Regions from separate parts of the Homo sapiens genome. Here region 1 is linked to region 2. The links are contacts of gene promoters, found by promoter capture Hi-C in human tissues and cell types (Jung and others, 2019). All regions are on one chromosome and are shown on one strand. The core of a region is centred on a gene start or on the middle of the fragment in contact, and the rest is flanking DNA. Distances in the headings are between cores, read along the strand shown.

Evidence for each region. The method cuts DNA at HindIII sites, captures the fragments that hold promoters and counts their contacts. A contact is called where the count stands out against the background at its distance.
Region 1: a contact is called between a fragment that was not itself captured here and the fragment with the promoter of IMMP1L in region 2, in 1 of the 25 tissues and cell types used here (heart left ventricle).

The regions. Positions count from the first base shown.
Region 1 is chr11:31,955,919-31,961,856 of GRCh38, reverse strand. No RefSeq gene overlaps it. Among named protein-coding and RNA genes, the nearest start is that of LINC03031, 82 kb to the left of the region's middle. The HindIII fragment of the contact is 7,890 bases long and covers 1-5,559 here.
Region 2 is chr11:31,505,067-31,511,119 of GRCh38, reverse strand. It overlaps IMMP1L (inner mitochondrial membrane peptidase subunit 1), which reads left to right and starts at 1,498. Exons shown (of 6, transcript NM_001304274.2): 1 at 1,498-1,601. ELP4 (elongator acetyltransferase complex subunit 4) reads right to left here and starts at 1,353. Exons shown (of 10, transcript NM_019040.5): 1 at 1,113-1,353. The coding sequence starts at 1,335. RefSeq lists enhancers at 1,049-1,338, 471-1,360. The HindIII fragment of the contact is 2,588 bases long and covers 1-2,336 here.

The sequences.
Region 1 (5,938 bases), core at 365-2,864, 450 kb before region 2:
CAAAAGAATAGTCCTTTAAATGGAGTAAGTTTATTTTCAGTTAAAAATTGCCATATTATCTTATCTTTTCACATTTCATGTAGCCTAGAGAAAAGTATGGCCCCCACCGTATTTGAGGCCCTCTTATCAATATTGATTGTGGAGTTATTCACTGTATTTGTTACTGATGATTAAAGCAACAATATGTGTGAATGAATTTTAAGTAATTTTGGCAGATTCAAAGTTATCCCATGTGGTTGCCAAAATATGCCCCTCCCATACCCACTGCCGCCCCCAGCTGCCAACCCCAAAGATGTCCACAATCCTAATTCCTACAACCTATGAATCTGTTGTATCATATGGCAAGTAGAAACTGCAAATGGAATTAAGGTTGCTAATCACCTGATCTTAAAATAGGGCAATTATCCTGGATTATTGGGGTGAACTCAGTGTAATCACAAGGCATCTTAAGTGGAGAAGAGTCAGAGAGATGGCATAGGAGTAAAGACTCATCTGACCATTGCTGGCTTTGAAGACAGAATGTGGCCACAAGCCAAGGAAGGAGGTAGCCTTTAAAATCTGGAAAAGGCAAGCAAACAATTCTCCCCTAGAGCCTGCAGAAAAAGCATAGCCCGGCCGACACCTTGATTTTAGCCCACTGGCATCCATTTAGGACTTCTGAGCTTCAGAACTGTAAGATAATACAATCGTATTGGCTTAAGCCAACAAGTTGGTGGTAATTTGTTACAGCAGCCACCTGAAGCAAATGCAGATTTCACGCAGCCTGGAGAAAAGTATGGCACCCATTTGCGTTTGAGGACTTGTGATCTACAACAGTTATGAAGTCATTCACAAATAATTTGTTACTGATAATGATTAAATCTATGTGTGAATGAGTTTTAGCAATTTTTGAGCAGATTCAAGAGTATCCCTATCACAGTGTTATTTTCCAAATTGCTTCCCTGAGTGAAAAAGACGGGGTTATAGCTGGGGCTGAAAATCATACAGAAATCATGAACGCATTTTTTTCTTTTGGATTGAGCATTTATTTTGTGCTCAAGACTGTCCTCAGTGCTTTATCTACATAATCACAGTTACCCACCCACCCCCCAAAACCTGGAAGGTAGGTACTATTCATATCACTCATTTACTTGCCCAAGATAATGCAAAGCTAGTGATCGAGCTAGGATTCGAACCTGTCATCAATGAGGAGAGTGGGTTGGGCAACCTCATGCCACTGGATAGGTGTGTTGTCATAGGTAGAGAAGGTTGAGAACCCTAACCTAGCACAGGAAGCCACACCGCTGCATATATCAGGGCCGCCTGCCCTAGCCGGGCCATACAACACGTCTGCCACTCCACTATCATCAAGCTGTGGCACTCTTTTCCCAATTTACAAAAACAAAACTTTTTAAATAATAATAATTTCAATGGAAAAGCATTTCTCAAGTTAGCTTCTTCTCTGACACATTTCTCTTAAACTTTTGTTACTTGGTTACCATTGTTTGAGTGTCTACGTGCCAAGCACTAGAGGGAGTAAAACATATTATTTGTCATTAAGTCCTCACCCCAGTATTTTCCGTCCCTTTGACAGATGAGGAAATGGAGTTTCAGAGACGTGAAGTAACTACTGCAGAGTTAAATAGCCAATAAATAGCAGGAGACTCCAGGGCTCCACAGTCAGATGTAGCCCTAAATTATCTATTTAATCCTTTAAACTTAAAACGTTAATGCTTCATGGTTTTCTGCAAAAATCCCAGTGACTTCCAAGTGCTGGACCTGAAGATTCCCGGTCTGGCATTTGCTCTTTCGATCATGTGCTGTCCTCATATGCAGTTTATTTATTAGGCCTGAGACATTGCGACTTAGCTCCAAGTTCCCTTGAGGCTATTTTCTTGAGACTTTGGAGGTTTCAAGCAAATCAGGGATTGGCTAACAAAACATTCTAAAACAGGTGAGTCATGGTTAAGTCTTACCCATAAGAGGAAGCCAAGTGTAAAGTCTGAGGGGATTCAAAGGACTCTCCCTTTCTCTCCTTCCTCACCCTGAAACCTGGCTGTGCTCCCTAGACACGTTCATAGTGGCAAAGTCATGGCTGTTTCAGCATATTAATAGGACGACTCTGGGAGCGATAAAGGCCATAGAATGGAGCCACTGAGAGAAGCTTTTGTGTCTCCAAGACTCCAACCCCTTTGATGAAACAGATGTTTGGGCCAGGCCCTCCTTTACAAGGAGAGTTAAACCTCAGTAAACAGCAGGAAAACCTCCTTGGTGGCAATGAACAGCCCACACGCTGGTCTTCCCTAGCAGCAGATGGGCTGGGGAAGGGGTGGCCTCCTGTCATCAAGCCCTGTGCCACCCGCTCAGAGACTGCAGAGCTGGTGTCTGTGACACGTGGTCGGTCACCTTGGAGGCTTTGATTTACGGTTGACTTTGGGAAAGACCAGCCTCTGACCTTGGCAGCCTGTTGCCTCACCATCTTTTCTCTAGGTTGGGAGAACTTTCCATCAAGATGGATGCACATCCCAAGTCTGGCCCCATGAAGGAGCTTCCCAGAGACCTTCTGGCTCAAATGTAGCAGGAAGGCTTGAAATGAAACCCTTTCCTCATCTGCCAGTGTCCCTGGAGCAATCTACAGACAAATGTAGGAAAATCCAGGACTAATATTGCCTCATGAGTTGAAGCTCAACATTTGAGAGTGCTGTATGTATCATCCACAGGCCCATGAAGCCTTCCTGGGTTTACTCTGAAGCATCAACTGCCCCAACTGCACAGCCAGGCTGCTCGAAAACAAAAACAAAAAAAATACATGGGAGTTACCCAAGGATGATTTTTCTCAAAATCTGCCAAGTAGTTCATTCAGTTTAGGGTGTGCGTTTGGGTAGGGTCAATTATTTCAGCAAAACTGTGGATTTAGCATTATCTTCCTTGAACCAGAAACATCTGCATAGGATGTATAAGCCAACAGGCAGTTAGAAATGGCCGAACAGGTGGGTGTAAAGAAGAAAAAAAAAATGTGTGAGCTATATTTAATTGAATACCAAAAATAGCTAATACATACTGAGCACTTACCATGGGCCACAAACTGTGCTAAGCACGTCATATGTATCCCACTCAATTCTTGCAGTGATCCTCTGAGGTTGATACTCTTATTATCCTTATTCTGTAGGAGATGAAACAGACACAGAGAGGTTAAGTAAGTTGGCCAAGGTTGCACAGCTATTAAGTGCCAAGCTGAGATTTGAACCCAGGCAACCAGGCTCCAAAGTCCATATGCTAACTACTATGATCGTCTTTAAAATCTGCCTAAAAGTAGATGGACGAGAGAGTTGCCCCTTTAAGACAAGTTAATCCTCGGTGTTCAAATTGGCTGTCTATGTGCATGTGTGTATGCGCAAGACACACGACTGCACACACTGTGAACTGAAACGTTTGGAGCTCCCAGAACCCCCCTGTTCCCATCTTATGAGTGCAGAGACACAGCTCTTCCCTCCCCAGGCATTTTGGCAGGCCAGAGGCCCGCTTAAGCCAGAGGCCTTGGCCGGCCAGGCTACCGGGAGGTGGCGCTGTGTCACTTTCCTACTCCGGAGCTTTTGTTTTCTGCGGGCTGCACGCTGGAGGTGGGGAGGCCAATTTGAGCAGAGCCTGTCGCCAATTTCCCTGATTTGAAATCTCACTCTCTTCTGTCACTTCCTTCAAATGAGCTGGGAGATGTTCAACAGATGACAGTCCTGAAAACGAGCCAAAACTGTTCTCTTAATCCCATCTCAAGATTTATTTGAAAAGGGTGTTTCCAAACAAGGAGCAGATTTCATGTGTCAGAATTACACTCACGCTGACCTCTTGGTTTTCAAAAGGAGAGAGGAAAAACACACCCAAACTCTCAACCACCTTGTAAAAACTCAGGTGATCATCGGGCCATGGGCTCAGGCCCTGTCCACAAGGAGGTACACAAATGCCCATTCCCCGGGAAATCCCAGGGTTAGCTGGAGGATCTACCTCTCTCCTGTGCACCACATCTCTCCAGGCCTCTGTGGACTTGCCGGTCCAAGGTGGCCCACCTCCTGCCGCCCTTCAAGAGGCTTCTCTCTAAGGAGCCGAATGCTCAAGGGTTCATGGCACTGCTGACATTTTGACATTTGCACATCAAATGAGCTGTACACTGACTTATCAAAGGAAGAATCACCCAACACGGTGATGCTTAGGCCTGCAAGGGAACCTCAAAGAACTTCGTCTGTCTCCCAGTTTTCTAGATGAGAAAATTGAAGCCCAGAGACAGGAAGTAAATCTCAACCTGGTAAATGGAAGAGCTGCAAGTGGCTCTCAGAATGCCCTGGCCGGGACAGCTGCCACCGCCTTAGGATAGAGTTTTAACCCTGAGGCACAGGAGGAGGAATGGAGCTTTGGAGTCAGACAGGCCTGGTTTGAATCCCAGTGCTTTAAGTATATTTGCATGACCCTGGGAAAATCACTAAATATTTCTGAGCCTCAGTTTCATCTGGAAAATGGGACAATATACAATCTGATCATGGGATTGTGATGAAGAGTAAATAAAATAACATACACGTAGGTTTCCAACATATGTTGCTTCATCCTTGTTTATTTTTTTGTTTTTTTGTTTTGCTTTGTTTTGTTTTGGTGTTATTTTAACCCCAATCGGAGAAGCTGGTTTCAGATTGGGGCTGACCCAATGGTAGGCACGCAGGCACCTTAAGAATCTAACTGTGCTTTGTAACTATCCTGTCCTCAGACCATCAAGCTACCTTGATCTTGGCTTGCAAATGTGGAGGACTGTCTTTTCTGTCTTTTGGGATCTGGAAACAAAGTTAGCCTTAGGCACAAGGTTTTAGGAGATTTGGGAAGGCTTACCATTCCTAAACCTTTCTCTTATCTTTCTAACGCCCATCCCTTGGCAAACATGTGTGTCCTCAATGCATTGAGTAAATGCTGTAATCTGGGCACATATCTTTCTTTTTTCAACAATCAAATACCCCCATGAGTGTGATGGTGATACCAACACCTTAGCATGAATTTTTTCAATTAGATTGCTTTCTTGCTAATGTCTGCATTAAGGAGATAGAAATTTTTATGAGGATGAGAGAATGGCTAAAAAATAAGGGATGTAATTTTTAAGCTGAGCTAAGGGGGTACCCCAAGAAGAAGCTTGAGCAGCAAGATGTAGCAGGCGAACAGTGTGGATAGAGAAAGAACACTGCAGGGAAATTCAGGGATCCAGAAATAATGGCAGGAGGGCTTCAGAGTTAACCTCATCAACCTGGAAAGTTTAGTGCAGCTGGTGTCTATGTGGGTGAGGTGACTCAGGACTACTGAAATGCCTCAGTCCACCCCTGTCCCCACATACATAGCATGTGTAAGGGCCTGTAGAAACGCCCTGAGCTTGGGCCTGACTCACAGACCTTCCTACGAAGCCATGAATTTAAACTCTTCCTGACTCAGATAAGGCATGTTTCTGATGGCTGACTTGGAGGAAGACTTTCATTCAAGCCTCAGTTATTTCACTCTATGCCAGGATAGGGAGGTGACTGAGACCCTCAAGAGAATCCCAGGCCATGAGATTATCCCAGATCTCAAGAGGATCCCAAGCCAATAGGTTCCGGTTTCCATGAGAGTACAGTGACATGTGTAGGTGACCTCTCCTCCATAAGAGAGGAGTACATGTCACGGTACTCTCATGGAAACATCTTCCCATAGCCTGAGAGGCCCTGCCTGACCCAGGCTCACCACCCAGCCCTTTCTGCAGCTCTGACCCAGCCAGGCTGGGATCTTCCTGCCTGACCTTGGGAACTGCTGCACCAGCCACTGCCTCTGCCAGGTACGCTCCTCCCCATGGTCTTCACAGGGTGCGCTCCTTCTCATCATCCAGGTCTCAGCTCAAAGGTCACCTCCTCAGAGAAGTCTGCCCTGCCCCACAAACCCAACGCCGCCCCACCCACCCTTC
Region 2 (6,053 bases), core at 249-2,748:
AAATGAAATGAGAGAATCAAGAAGCCATACTCTTTCTCATAGGTTGCTGGTCTTCTTACTTTCTCTGCACTAAACCTATGAAAAGCCTACTTTGAGGGGAAAATAACCGAAAGAAATGTCAAACGAAGTACAAGAACAAGCAATGAGTTATATTTTATGAAAGTGTACAAGATTTAACAGACACATATCACACACTATGAAAAAAGTTATGTAAACACAGACGGGGTTTTAATGAAACAGCATTCAGAAATTAATCTAGAAGCTTTATTAACACAGCAAATCTGTCCTACCAACTTAATCTGGTCATTCCTTTGAATATAACAGTTATGAAACAAGCATATTCTTCAGCAGGCTTCTCATAAAAAATTCCAGAGATTTTAAAGGAAAGCCTAAGAACTAGACTTTTCTCGTTAAAATGTGAGTTAAATTTAAAGATGTCGTATGGAATGTAGCAGCAATCAATACTGGGAAGCAAAATGTATATAGAAAAAATAAAAAATATATACACAGATTTAACGCAGACACTATCTAAATATCAACGACAGGCTCAAAATACTTTATAAGGATTATGTGTCAACATAAGCCTTTAACATTCGCTCTCTTAAAGCCAAAATGTTTTAAGATTTAGAACCAGAGAACAGGCAGTCTGACGGTCAAAGAGGGGAAATCATTTTTTTCCAGCATCTTCTAATGAAGTCTGTCTCTCACAATTATAAAAACTTTTGCAGGCTGGTCTAAACCGTGAGCTGCCTGGAGAAAGCAGAAGGGAGGTATCCTGAATGAAAGCCAAACCATCTCCATAAATTAATGTCTTCCCTTGACTAGAAAGCATTTCAGGGTAAAAAGCATGTACGAATTCCTCCGTAATATGAAAAGGGGTTGGAGGGCAGGGAATGAAATAGAGAGCGAGGGCACTAAAACATGTTTAGTTAACAGCGCTCAGAAGTCTCCACACAACCCGTATTCCCCTCCATCTCAATCAGACCAGGCTATTCTCTCCTCCTCCGAAGGTTTAGGGGTCAGAAAGAGATGTGGGGTCAAAGTGGCTTCCCCGACAGGTCCCCTCCCTAAGTTTCCCCTCGGCTGAGCCCAGATCTCCGCTCTGAACCGACCTAAGAGCTGGTCTAGGGCTGGGAGCCCGGTTGATACCAGCAGCTGTCCATTCCGCACCGACGGTCGCGTGCCCGCAATGGACACCAGTCGAGGGCCGCTGTCGTTGGTCACGCTGGCTCTAGGACCCCTCCTCTGGAAACTGGTGACGTTGCTCTTGCTGGCTGTCGCCACTGCAGACCCAGTACTCGCGGCAACACTACCGCAGGTTGCCACTGCCGCCATCTTAGAGCCTCCAGTGTTAACCCAATAGGAACTCTGGGAACGCAAACACCCGTCCTATCAGAACCAGTGCCAAACTCCCGCCTCCTCGCCCCAACCGCGGCTCTCGTAACCAATAGGACTGAGACGTCAGTCCCGAGCCAACCAATCGGAAGGCGTATTGCTGAAAAGTGCGCCCTACGAAAGGACGGTCGACTTCGGCGGGGCCCAGGTGAGAAAGGCCCACCTGTGTCCTGGTTGAGGGTCTCCAGGGTTCTTTGGGGCCCGAGGTAGGTAATATCACGTAACGTTCTTCTCCTTTTGAGTGCCTTCATTCACATTGAGTTAAAGAAAAGGTTGGTGAAACAATAAACCCTTAGGGCTTATCAAGCAATTGCTAGCACCTTTCTCCGCTGTGTGTGAGGATAGACTTTTTTCCTGCTCATTTATCTTCTGATTTCTGATAGAAAATTCACTCCGCCTTCCCCACGATGTCTTTTTCTTAATTTTGTGTTATATGGAAAGGATGGGATCTCTTACCTTAATGAGTTGGTTGCTGAGCGTCTGGGCTTAGTTCGTTAGTGCCTAGTGGTAGGTGGTTTGGAATTAAACCTTAGAGCGAAAACTCTTGAACTTTGAGGCTATCTGGTTTTCCTGTGTCTGACAAACTATAGCTCTCTGACAAGTTCCGATAAGAAGCTTTTGTTAATTTTAATTAGTGTTTCTGGAAGTCTTGGATGTCTTTCCTAAGCGGTGTAAATGACAAGTGTTACTCTGACAACCTTGTTCACACATTTAATTGTCGTTTGCTGTTAAAGCAGCTGCAAATAACAGAAAATACTTAGGGTTTCTTTCCCCCAAAAAACTGCTAGGAAGAATTAGAAGTATACCTACTTTATTTTATGAACCCTGAATCGAGAGTTTATTACTAAAATACCAATTTTATGTGTGGAAAAAACATGTATTTTGAGTTGTATTTTTGTATTTAATTTTTTTTTCAAAACTGAGCAGGGACAGTGGGTAACTGATGTTTAAAGGCAATCATGATTGACAAATGTCTAAATTGAAAAGGACTCCCAAATCATTACCGCACTACTGAGTTATTGACTTTGACAGTGATCTGTGATACCTTTTAATTAGAGCCAAACCTCATTGAAATTCTTGCCATCGAATTGTTTTAAATCTCACTGACCTGTTGAAATTTTTGGGCTGATTCTGTTTGATAAATTGAAATTAGTATTGCTAAATAGTGACTGGAGTTTTTCATTTGGGGAGGATTTTTGTTTGTTTGCTTGTTTTTTAGAATCATGTTTAGGAAAAAACCCTGTTTCACAATATATCAACTGGAAAGCTTTGATCAAGGTTGCTTTCATATTGAATCTTTAAGTTACTCAATAAATAGCTGTTGAGTGATTACTGTCTGTTTGGACTTAATCTTGTCATTTTAGACCTATGGTAATAAAAATGGTCTCACCTGGAGGAGATAAAATTAACACATAGAAAACAACATAGTACTTAAAATGAACACATTAAATAGCATGTGCTAATTTTATCCTGTAGTAAATAAGCACTAGGAAGACCAAAAGAAAAAGTGACAAAGCAGTCCAATATCAGATAGAAACGTCTTGAATTTTTTTTTTCTTCAACTTTTGTTTTAGGTTCTGGGCTTCATGTGCAGGTTTGTTACATAGGTAAACGTGTGCTGTGGTGGTTTGCTGCACAGATCAACCCACCACCTCGGTATTAAGCCCAGCATCCATTAGCTATTCTTCCTGATGCTCTCTGTCCCCCCACCCCTACAAATATTTTTGATGCTGTGAACTTTTTGAAATGCTACATATAATTATTATTTTTTGACAGATGGCATTGTTTTGTGTACCTCATGATGCTATGAAGTGTATGTACATTCCGGAATCGTTAAATCTAGCTAATTAGCAATGCATTACCTCACATAGTTATCATTTTTGTGGTAAGAGTACATAACATCTACACTGTTTACATTTTTTTAAAGAATACAATATATGATTATTAACTATAGTCAGCTTGCTATAAATTCATGTTATATAATAGATTTCTTGAAATTTATTCCTCCTATCTAACTGATATTATGTATCTTTGACCAAATTCTCCCCATCCCCCCTGCCAACCATCCTGGCCTCTGGTAAACACCATTGTACTCTCTGTGCGATGAACTATTAGATTCCACCTATGAGTAAGATCATGTGATATTTGTCTTTCTGTGTCTGACTTATTTCACTTAACATAATGGTATAATTCGTTTTTATAGGCTTCTGTATTACATATTCCCTTGTTTCCTACTGTATTTACTTAACCCTTTAGATTTCCCAAGATGATGATAGTGGTGCTTTGTTTGCCTCATTACTAGAACTGAAGAATTATTTTCCAACTTTGACTTGGACTATAATTCTGGAAAGATGATCTATATACACACCAGAGTATTCATGAAATTAGGATATATATCTGGTATAACACTATCGTAGGATAAATATGCTTTTGTTTTTTTTTTCTGAGACGGAGTCTAGGTGTGTTCCCCGGGCTGGAGTGCAGTGGCGCGATCTCGGCTCACTGCAAGCTGTGCCTTCCTGGGTTCACACCATTCTCCTGCCTCAGCCTCCCGAGTAGCTGGGACTACAGGCGCCCGTCACCACGCCCTGCTGATTTTTTGTATTTTTAGTAGAGATGGGGTTTCACCGTGTTAGCCAGGATGGTCTCAGTCTCCTGACCTCGTGATCCGCCCACCTCGGCCTCCCAAAGTGCTGGAATTACAGGTGTGAGCCAGCGCGTCAGCCAAATATGGGTTTTTTGTTTGTTTGTTTTTTGTTTTCTTTTTAGACGGAGTCTCGCTCTGTTGCCAGGCTGGAGTGCAGTGGCATGATCTCGGCTTACTGCAACCTCCGCCTCCTGGGTTCAAATGATCCTCCTGCCTCAGCCTCCTGAGTAGTTGGGACTACAGGCATGCACCACCATGCCCAGCTAATTTATGTATTTTGAGTAGAGACAGGCTTTCACCATGTTGGCCAGGATGGTCTCAATCTCTTGACCTTGTGATCCACCCGCCTCGGCTTCCCAAAGTGTTGAGATTACAGGTGTGAGCCACCGCGCCCAGCCGCCTTTTTTTTTTTTTTTTTTAACAAAGATAAAATCTTTGCTCCCAAATAATTTCAAATTCTTGAACTTACCAGCAAGTAGCAGAGTTGAATATAAAACACGAGAATAAATAAAGTATTCATGGAAAGGAAGAGTTAAAAGTTATATGTTGGCTGGGCACAGTGACTCATGCGTGTAATTCCAGCACTATGGGAGGACGAGGCGTGCAGATCACAAGGTCAGAAGATCGAGACCTTCCTGGCTAACATGGTGAAACCCCGTCTCTACTAAAAAATACAAAAAAATTAGCTGGGCATGGTGGCGGGCTTCTGTGGTCCCAGCTGCTCAGGAGGCTGAGGCAGGAGAATGGGGTGAACCCGGGAGGCAGAGCTTGCAGTGAGCCGAGATTGCGCCACTGCACTCCAGGCCTGGGCGACACAGCGAGACTGTGTCTCAAAAAAAAAAAAAAAAAAAGTTATATGTTTAGGTGCGTTCTTAATTAATTCTTTATGAAGGACATACTAAATTCTAGGAAGTGCACCAGAGCTCAGGTTACAGGAGAAAAAAATACTGTGTCAGTACTCTTTGAGTTCACAGTTGGGGAAGATACGTGGGCAAATAGGTCAATAAAGTACAGTTGATCCTTGAACAGTGTGCGGATCAGGGGTGTCGACCCCCACACCCGTGTAGTTGAAAACACGCATATAACTTTTGACCCCTCCCAAACTTAACTGCTAATAGTCTACTTTTGACTACTGGATGCTGTACCAATGACATCTGTGGATTAACACATAATTTGTATATGTATTATGTACTGCATTCTTTCCATAAAGTAAGCTAGAGAAAATGTTAATCAAATCATAGGAAGAAAATATATTTGCCATGCATTAAGTGCAGGTGGATCATTATACAGGTCTTCGTTCTGACATTTTTCATGTTGAGTAGTCTGAGCAGAAGGAGGAAGAGGAGGGGTTGGTCTTGTAGTCTCAAGGGTGCCAGAGACAGAGAAGGTGGGAGGGGAGGAAGGAGAGGTAGACGCAGTCAATATAGCTTTATGGAAATACATACTAATTTGTCTGTTTTGCTTTTTCAGCTCTCTAAAAATGTTTTTGTACAGTACCATTTCTTCCACTGTTTGCTTTAGTTTTAGTATCTGTGTTATAATAGGGGTCCATGTCAGAAGAAGTCACAGCAGTCTTGAATAACTGGAAGACTTCTGCCAGATTGCCTAATGTCAGTTTGTTTTCTGGCACTGCTTCTTCTACTTCTTTCTCATCATCTGGCACTTGTTTGGAAGCATTCATCTCCATCAAGTCATCTTCTGTTAATGCCTCTGGTGTGGTGTCTGTTAACTCTTGAATTTCTCCAAGGTGCCTATCTTAAACAACTATTCCCTCCCGACGTTTTTTATTTTTTATTTTTTCCATGTCCACAATGTTTCCCATAACTTCCTTGATTGACTGTTGTAAATCCTGCAGGAAACCACTTTGAGATACACCAGAAAACATATAATGAACATGGTAGGCAACCAGCACCTTCTGATACAAGTGGACACCTCTTCAGTTGTTTTTTCAGTGGCTTCACTAGCCCTGGAGTCCATATCACTGTTGTGTCTGTGCAGGTAAAGCATATAG